Linked DNA regions of Homo sapiens: region 1 is linked to region 2. The links are contacts of gene promoters, found by promoter capture Hi-C in human tissues and cell types (Jung and others, 2019). All regions are on one chromosome and are shown on one strand. Each heading gives the region's core, a stretch centred on a gene start or on the middle of the fragment in contact. The rest is flanking DNA. Distances are from core to core; before and after follow the strand shown.

Region 1 (4,813 bases), core at 1,575-4,074, 170 kb before region 2:
TGCAGTCAAGATGTAGAACATGTTCGTCACCCTGAAAGGTCCCCCTGAGTCCCGGCTCCTGGCAGCCACTGATCTGGTTTCTTTGCCTTCTGCTGCTTCCAGCGTGTCGTGACACAGGGTCACAGGGTGTCTGCCATCATCTTCTGCGCCTGGCTTCTTTCCCTGGCACGCACCTTGTTGCATGGATGAGCAGTTTGCTCCTTTCTGTTACCGGGTAGTGTTCTGTGGTTTGGATGCACCATGGCTTGTTAGTTTACAACCAGTGGATGGACATTTATACTGCTTCCTGTTTTTGTAAGAAATAAAGCTAATATAAACATAAGTGTGCAGTCTTTGTAGGGACATACATTTTTCTCTTAGCTAAGTAACTATGAATGGAATTGCTGGGCCACGTGGCCAGTGTCTGTTTAACTTGCTGAGAAACTGCCGCATTGTTTCCCATGTGCTTGTCCATTTTGCAGTCCCACAGCACAGTACGAGAGTTCCAGGTTTTCCACTTCCCTTTTGGCCACTTGTAGGTGGTCAGTCTTTTTTTTTTTTTTTTTTTTTGAGACAGCGTCTTGCCCTGTCGCCAGGCTGGATTTGCAGTGGCGCAATCTCAGCTCACTGCAACCTCCGCCTCCCGGGTTCAAGCCATTCTCTTGCCTCAGCCTCCTGAGTAGCTGGGACTACAGGCACGTGCCACCATGCCCGGCTAATTTTTTTGTATCTTTAGTAGAGACGGGGTTTCACCATGTTGGCCAGGATGGTCTCAATCTCTTGACCATGTGATCCGCCCGCCTCGGCCTCCCAAAGTGCTGGGATTACAGGCGTGAGCCACCGTGCCCGGCCCGTGGTCAGTATTTTCAGCCAATTCTTATTTGGTGTGTAGTGGTATTTCATGGTTTTAATTTGCATTTCTCTGAAGATTAATGATGTTGAGCATTTTGTCATGTGCTTAATTTGCCATCCATATCTCTTCTTTGATAAAGTGTTTAAATTGTTTTAAGTTGCATTATTTACTTTCTATTTATTGAGTTATCAGAGTTCTCTATACATTCTGGATACAAGATCTTTGTCAGATATGTGTTTTACAAATATTTCCACCAGTCCATAGCTTGTCTTTTCATCTTTTTAAACAATATCTTTGAAGAACAGATTTTTACTTTTTTTTTTTTTTGAGATGGAGTCTCGCTCTGTTGCCAGGCTGGAGTGCAGTGGCACGATCTCAGCTCACTGCAACCTCCACCTCCCATGTTCTCCCACCTCAGCCTCTCAAGTAGCTGGGATTACAGGTGCATGCTACCATGCCCGGCTAATTTTTTGTATTTTTAGTCGAGATGGGGTCTCATCCTGTTGGCCAGGCTGGTCTCGAAGTCCTGGTCTGAAGTGATCCGCCCGCCTTGGCCACCCAAAGTGATGGGATTATAGGCGTGAACCACCGCCCCCAGCCTTACTTTTTTTGTTGTTGTTGAGCCAGAGTCTCGCTCTGTCGCCCAGGCTGGAGTGCAGTGGCGTGATCTCGGCTCACTGTAACCTCCGCTTCCTGGGTTCCCACCATTCTCCTGCCTTAGCCTCCCGTGTAGCTGGGATTATAGGCGCCCGCCACCATGCCTGGCTAAGTTTTGTATTTTTAGTAGAGACTGGGTTTCACCATGTTGGTCAGGCTGGTCTTGAACTCCTGACCTTGTGATCCGCCCGCCTCGGCCTCCCAACGTGCTGAGATTACAGGTGTGAGCCACCACGCCTGGCCCAGAATTGACTTTTTTTTTCTTTTTTTGAGTCGGAGTCTTGCTCTGTTGCCCAGGCTGGAGTGCAGTGGCACCATCTTGGCTCACTGCAAGCTCCACCTCCTGGGTTCACGCCATTCTTCTGCCTCAGCCTCCTGAGTAGCTGGGACTACAGGCGCCCGCCATCACGCCCAGCTAATTTTTTGTAGTTTTGGTAGAGACGTGGTTTCACCATGTTAGCCAGGATGGTCTCGATCTCCTGACCTTGTGATCCGCCCCCCCCTTGGCCTCCCAAAGTGCTGGGATTACAGGTGTGAGCCACGGCACCTGGCCCACATTTTACTTTTGACAAACCTCAGCTTATTATTATTATTTTTTCCTGGTTTGTGCTTTTTATATCCTATCTGCGAAGTCCATGCAAGACCCAACGGCACTAAGATTTTTGCCTGTCTTTTCCACTGGAAGTTTCATAGTTTTAGATTTTACATTTGTCTCTGTCTGGCCATCCTTACACAGCCACAATACTGTATTGTTTACTATAGCATGATGGTAAGTCAGTTAAGTAATATGAGTCTTCCAGCTTCATTCTTTTTCAAAATTGCTTTGGTTTTTCTACACGTTTTTTCTGTGAACTTTAGAATCAGCTTGTCAGTGTCTACAAGCCCTCTGGGATTTTGACTGGAATTGCATTGAATGTATGAAACAATCTGGAGGACAGCTGACATTTTAACAATACTGAGTCTTCTGATTCACACACCCATAGGTCAGTGATGGGAGCAAGGCTCAGGCTAAAGCAGATTCAGGGTGTCTTTCTGTGTGGAACGTTTAGGAAAAGTATGTTTGCATGCCACTGTCTCCTGACCAAACCCTTCGCTTTTTTGTCTTCTAGTATCTTTATGTATCCTTATAGATTATTATAGGCAGTAATGATTAATGATGAGATATTAAAACGCCTTTGTTCTTTTGATTTAAGGAGAGGGCAAGTATTGAGGATTTTCCCTCTTGCTTTTGTATTCAGGGCCGGGCGCTGGTGGCTCACGCCTGTAATCCCAGCACTTTGAGAAGCCGAGGCGGGCATATCACGAGGTCAAGAGATCGAGACCATCCTGGCCAACATTGTGAAACCTCATCTCTACTAAAAATACAAAAATTAACTGGCCCTGGTGGTGTGCGCCTGTAATCCCAGCTACTCAGGAGGCTGAGGCAGGAGAATCGCTTGAACCCGGGAGGCAGAGGTTGCAGTGAGCTGAGATCGTGCCACTGCACTCCAGCCTGGGCCACAGAAAGAGACTCCGTCTCAAAAAAAAAAAAAGAAAAAAAAAATCCCAAAGTGTCAGAATTACTGTATTCAGCTATAGATGCATCCCTGTATATAAGATGCAGTTTCTTATACGTGTACAAATGCCTATCGCAGGCCAGGTGCGGTGGCTCAAGCCTGTAATCCCAACACTTTGGGAGGCTGAGGCGGGTGGATCAAGAGGTCAGGAGTTCAAGACCAGCATGGTGAAACCCCGTCTCTACTAAAAATACAAAAAATTAGCTGGGTATGGTGGCGCATGCCTGTAGTCCCAGCTGCTCAGGAGGCTGAGGCAGGAGAATGGCTTGAACCTGGGAGGTGGAGGTTGTGGTGAGCCGAGATGGTGCCACTGCACTCCAGCCTGGGCGACAGTGCGAGACTCCATCTCAAAAAAAAAAAAACAAACAAAAACAAAAAAAAAAACAAATGCCTATCACAGTTGGCTCAGTCACTTTTTCTGTGACTGTCATTGCTTCAATTTTATGTTGATTTATGAAACCTAAGTTTACACAGAAAAGAAATTAAGGACTAAATTAAGATACTGAAGAATTACTTAAGCCCCTGAGTTTTTTTTTTTCTTTTTTTTTTTTTGAGACAGAGTCTTGCTCTGTCACCCAGGCTGGAGTGCAGTGGCGCCATATCGGCTCACTGCAAGCTCCTCCTCCCGGGTTCTCGCCATTCTCCTGCCTCATCCTCCTGAGTAGCTGGGATTACAAGGCGCCCGCCACCACGCCCGGCTAATTTTTTGTATTTTTAGTAGAGATGGGGTTTCACTGTGTTAGCCAGGATGGTCTCGATCTCCTGACCTTGTGATCTGCCCGCCTCGGTGTGAGCCACCGGACCTAGCCAACCCCCTGAGTTTTTTTAAAGTTCTAATAATACTCATCAGGTTAGCTGTGTATGCAAGCATATTGTAAAATTGCTTTTTTTTTTTTTTATTTCCAGTTGGAGTCTAGCTCTGTCGCCAAGGCTGGAGTGCAGTGGCGCGATCTCAGCTCACTGCAACCTCTGCCTCCTGGGTTCATGCGATTCTCCTGCCTCAGCCTCCCAAGTAGCTGGGATTATAGGCAACCGCCACCATGCCCAGCTAATTTTTGTATTTTTAGTAGATATGGGGTTTCACTGTGTTGGCCAGGCTGGTCTCGAACTCCTGACCTCGTGATCCATTCACCTCAGCTTCTCAAAGTGCTGGGTTTACAAGTATGAGCCACTGCGCCTGGCTGTAAAATTGCCATTTAAGAGGCTGTGTGTAACTGGAGGTATTGATGGGTGTCTTTGAGAGGGTGGGGATTCAGAAAGGTTCAGGATGGGCCGGGCGCGGTGGCTCACGCCTGTAATCTCAGCACTTTGGGAGGCCAAGGTGGGCAGATCATGAGGTCAAAAGATCGAGACCATCCTGGCTAACATGGTGAAACCCCGTCTCTACTAAAAACACAAAAAATTAGCCAGGCGTGATGGCGGGCGCCTGCAGTCCCAGCTACTCTGGAGGCTGAGGCAGGAGAATGGTGTGAACCTGGGAGGCGGAGCTTGCAGTGAGCCGAGATGGTGCCACTGCACTCCAGCCTGGGCGACAGAGCGAGACTCCGTCTCAAGAAAAAAAAAAAAATTTCTTTATGTCTTTCTTGGTCAAGTGTTTTTTTTTACATATGTACAATGGGGATCCTGAGTTGGAACCACATACTTTGGTAAACAAAGTGCAGTAGTGTTCACAGTTACCACGATCATATCCCGTGTTGACCCACCCTCTCTTTTTTAGGTTGCGACCTTTCCTTCCCCAGCAATAAACTGGTCTCTGGAGATCACTGTA
Region 2 (4,550 bases), core at 803-3,302:
GAGCCACCGCACCCAGCCTACTTCAAGTTCTTTAACGGCAGAGTAAATCTGTTTCCTTAAAAAGACCTAAGAAATTCAGAATATTGATTCAGAATTTCTGATTTTTCAGAATTCTGATTTTTAAAAAAGAATATAACAGGCTGGGCATGGTGGCTCATGCCTGTAATCCCAGCACTTTGGGAGGCCGAGGTGGGAGGATCACCTAAGGTTGGGAGTTCAAGACCAGCCTGACCGACATGGAGAAACCCCGTCTCTACTAAAAATACAAAATTAGCTGGGCATAATGGCGCGTGCCTGTAATCCCAGCTACTCGGGAGGCTGAGGCAGGAGAATTGCTTGAACCCGGGAGGCGGAGGTTGCAGTGAGCCGAGATTGCACCATTGCACTCCAGCCTGGGCAACAAGAGCGAAACTCCGTCTCAAGGAAAAAGAAAAAAGAAAAGAAGGAAAAAGAATGTAACTCCAGTCTAATCATGAGAAAACCTTCAGAGAAGTCTCAATTGAGGGACCTTCTACCAAACCCCTGACCAGGACGCCTCAAACACTCATGATCATCAAAACAAGTCTGAGAAATTGTCACAGCCAAAACATGCCTACGGAGGCATGAAGACTACTTGTCATGTGGGACCCTAGAACAGAACAGCAGGTAAAAGCTGAGGAAATCTCAATGAAACATGAACCTTAGTTAACAGTAATGTATTATAAACTAATATAATAACTATAATTAATCTATATTATTTTGGCTCATTAATTTTGATATATACACCATGCTTAGTGTATGATGCTAATAATAGAGGAAATAAGGTTAACAAAAGATAAAAATCTAATATAAAGTACCTAACGCAACCACAGTAGTATAATTCTGTGCCCCCTTTCTCAAAGTACTGAGTATAATGAGGAGTTAGGACTGGGAAAACCATCCTTGCCGCTAGAGCAGTCCTGGCCGACAGAAACAGAATGCCAGCAACATGTGAAATTATACATTTTCTAATAGCAACATTAAAAAGAAACAGGTGAATTTCGATCATACTTTTAATTCAATATGCTAAAAATACTATTTCAACACATAACTAATGTTAAAAACCTGCACTACTTTTTTTTTTTTTCCTTTGAGACAGGCTCTGTTGCTCAGGCTGGAGTGAAGTGGCGGGATCTCGGCTCACACTGTGCAGCCTGGGACCCCTGGACTCAAGGGATCCTCCTACCTCAGCCTCCCGAGTAGCTGGGACCACAGGCGCGCGCCACCTCGCTCGGCCAATTTTTTTTGTATTTTTTGTAGAGATGGGGGTCTCACTATGTTGCCCAGGCTGGTTTCAAATTTCTCAAGCGATCCTCCGGCCTCAGCCTCCCAAACGCTGGGATTACAGGCCTGAGCTACCGCACCCGGCCCTGCTTGCGTTAAGTTTAAATTGACGTAAACTAAGCATTCCCTTCAGGAATCACACGAGCCATATTTCAAACGCTCAATAACCGCACGCAGCTCGCGGGCGCGCTCCTGCAAACGCCCCTGAAGGAGGCCCGGCTTCCACCTCAGCCTCGCCCCGGCCCGCGCTCCGGCGATGGCACCCAGGGCGGACTCGCAGGGGCGGGGAGAAGGGCGAGGACGCGACGGAGCTCGGCCACAGAAGCCGGCGGGAAGGGTCAGCCGCCCCCGGAACCCTCCGCGCAGAGCGGCCCCGGAAAGCGGCTCCTCCGCTGGGGAAAGCAGACGGCGACCCCAGATCCCGACCCGATCGCAACCTTAAACCTGGTCCCGATCTCGATCCCAACGGTAACACCTGCCCTGACCCCCATCCCGACCCCGGCCCCAAACAGCCCCGCGCGCACCTGTCCCAGTTGGGGTCCCAGACACCGGGGCCCGGCCGCGCGCCCCCCGCCCAGGCCGGCGGCTCAGCCGGGCGTGGCTCCGCGTCCCCGCCTGCGCGCGGCTTCCCTACCGCCACGGCCGAGAAGAGCACGGCGGCCGAGCCCCCGGCCAGCCCGCAGGCCGCCAGCTGCAGCGCCTGCCGGAACGCCATGCCGCTTGCTCCCGCGCCGGCCCGCGCAGGCGCCCACGGCCCCGACGGCGCTCCGCGAGGAACACGCTTCCCCCGGCTGCCGCTTCCGGGCGGCGGGGGCGGAAGTCCCGCCTCCTGGGGCGCGGCAGGACGCGGGGCAGCCTTGCGCGAAGGGGCGTTTTCGTGGAGCCACCTGCCGCGCCACGCTCCAGTCCCGTCACTTGTGCTCGCGAGCGCCGGTGCGCGCAGGTGCGGGCGGGGTTGTGGGGACGCCGGGAGGGCGGCGCGGTACTTTCCAGAAGGTTCCGCACCGGAAGCGCCTGCCGAGGCCGGAGGCTGGGTGCAGGGGCGGAGACGCGGAGAACTTGGGATCCTGGTTTAAGGGAGCTGGGAAGCTGCCGCAGGTTTGTTTAAACGATATTTTTTTGGTGGCGGAACACGAAGTAAAGTTTTCCGTCGGCGCAGTTCCTGCGTGTGCTGTTCAAGCGGCCTGAAGTGCGTTCAGGTTCGGCCGGGCTGTCCCTCCTCCTGGTCCCGACCCCTCAAACCCCGGGCCGAACACCGCCCTCTCCTGCGGGACAGTCTTTCTATGGCCGGCGCGTTTCGCCTAGCAGGGTCCTCAGAGGGACCGCGTTAGAGCCTGGGTTTCCTTCCAGGGGGACCAGCGCTCCCTGGGTGGACCGACCCCACCGCTTACCCATTGCTGGACGCCTGCGTGCACCGACCCCACCGCTTACCCATTGCTGGACGCTTGCCCTGTTGCCATCTCCTCGCTAGCGTGAACAGTGCTGCGTGCAGATCTCTCTTTCATTGATTGTTTTGCGTCTGTACCCAGAAGTGGGATTGCTGGACCATCTCTGCCCATTTTAAAATTGGGAAATGACATGATCTGATTTAAGCTATTTAAAAATCACTTGGGCCTGGGCTCGGTGGCTCACGCGTGTAATCACAACACTTTGGGAAGCCGAGACAGGCGGATCACCTGAGGTCAGAAGTTTGAGACCAGCCTGGCCAACATGGTGAAACCCGGTCTCTACTAAAAATACAAAAATTAGCCGGGCACGGTGGCTCCAGCCTGTAATACCAGCTACTCAGGAGGCTGAGGCAGGAGAGTTGCTTGAACCCAGGAAGCGGAGGTTGCAGTGAGCTGAGATTGCCTCACTGCACTCCAGCCTGGGCAACAGAGTGAAACAATGTCTCAAAAAAATAAAAATAAAAAAACTGAATGGTTCCACAGAAATACTGAGACTTCTGCTTAAACAGGCTTTCTTGAACCTGTACGCTTCCAGTTGGGTCTGCTGCTTCCAGGTCATTTACTAAAAATGATAGGAAGATTTAAAAAATAAAAATAAAAGGAAGGCCGGGCGTGGTGGCTCACGCCTGTAATCCCAGCACTTTGGGAGGCCTAGGTGAGCGGATCACGAGGTCAGGAGCTCGAGACCATCCTGGCTAACACGGTGAAAACCCGTCTCTACTAATAATACAAAAAAAAAAAAAAAAAATAGGGCATGGTGGCGGGTGCTTGTAGTCCCAGCTACTAGGGAGGCTGAGGCAGGAGAATGCCGTGAACCCGGGAGGCGGAGCTTGCAGTGAGCCGAGATCGCGCCACTGCACTCCAGACTGGGCGACAGAGCGAGACTCTGTCTCAAAAAAATAAAGGAAAATTGGGCCGGGCGCAGTGCCTCACGCCTGTAATCCCAGCACTTTGGGAGGCTGAGGTGGGCGGATCACGAGGTTAGGAGATCAAGACCAGCCTGACCAACATGGTGAAACCCCGTCTTTACTGAAATACAAAAAAGCCTGGCGTGGTGGTGCGCGCCTGTAGTCCCTGCTACTCGAGAGCCTAAGGCCGGATAATCGCTTGAACCTGGGAGGCAGAGGTTGCAGTGAGCCAGGATGGTGCCACTGCACTCCAGCCTGGGTGACAGAGACTCTGTCTCAAAAAAAAGAAAATCAGCCAGGCTCAGTGGCTCATGCCTGTAATCCCAGCACTTTGGGAGGCCGAGGCGGGCAGATCACCTGAGATCAGGAGTTTGAGACCAGCCTGGCCAACATGGTGAAACCCCATCTCTACTAAAAATACAAAAATTAGCTGGTACATACCTGTAATCCCAGCTACCCAGGAGGCTGAGGCAGGAGAATCGCTGGAATCCAGGAGGCAGAAGCTGCAGTGAGCTGAGATCACACTACTGCACTCCAGCCTGGGTGACAGAGCAAGACTCCATCTCAAAAAATAAAATAAAAAACAAGGGAAAATCCACAAGGACATAGTTGAATCCATAAGAAGAAATGACAGCAGATAAATCAGTTAACAAAAGTTCAAGAGCTGGAGATCAGATCTTTATCGACCTGAGAATATGGAACACCAGTGCCTATGTGGAAGGAAACCAGGAAGCAAGTTCATTTAATCCAGTGAGTCTGGAAGAGTCTGGGAGTTGGCAGCATTAGCCTCCTGTCTGAGAGCTGTGGGGCTGAAAGCAGGAGCATTTAGAGGAAAAGGTTGCCTTCCACATTTCGTTTCTCCCCCACATGTTCAGGGGAATAGCTCACTTTC

Evidence for each region. The method cuts DNA at HindIII sites, captures the fragments that hold promoters and counts their contacts. A contact is called where the count stands out against the background at its distance.
Region 1: a contact is called between a fragment that was not itself captured here and the fragment with the promoter of PGAM5 in region 2, in 1 of the 25 tissues and cell types used here (H1 embryonic stem cells).

What each region holds. Positions count from the first base shown.
Region 1 is chr12:132,877,604-132,882,416 of GRCh38, reverse strand. CHFR (checkpoint with forkhead and ring finger domains) reads left to right here. Exons shown (of 18, transcript NM_001161346.2): 3 at 4,763-4,813. Among named protein-coding and RNA genes, the nearest start is that of CHFR, 7.6 kb to the left of the region's middle. The HindIII fragment of the contact is 8,676 bases long and covers 1-4,813 here.
Region 2 is chr12:132,708,344-132,712,893 of GRCh38, reverse strand. It overlaps PGAM5 (PGAM family member 5, mitochondrial serine/threonine protein phosphatase), which reads right to left and starts at 2,052. Exons shown (of 6, transcript NM_001170543.2): 1 at 1,827-2,052. The coding sequence starts at 2,017. It overlaps LOC124903063 (a long non-coding RNA gene), which reads left to right and starts at 2,299. Exons shown (of 2, transcript XR_007063551.1): 1 at 2,299-2,400. RefSeq lists silencers at 1,536-1,645, 1,856-2,315 and an enhancer at 2,486-2,535. The HindIII fragment of the contact is 20,255 bases long and covers 1-4,550 here.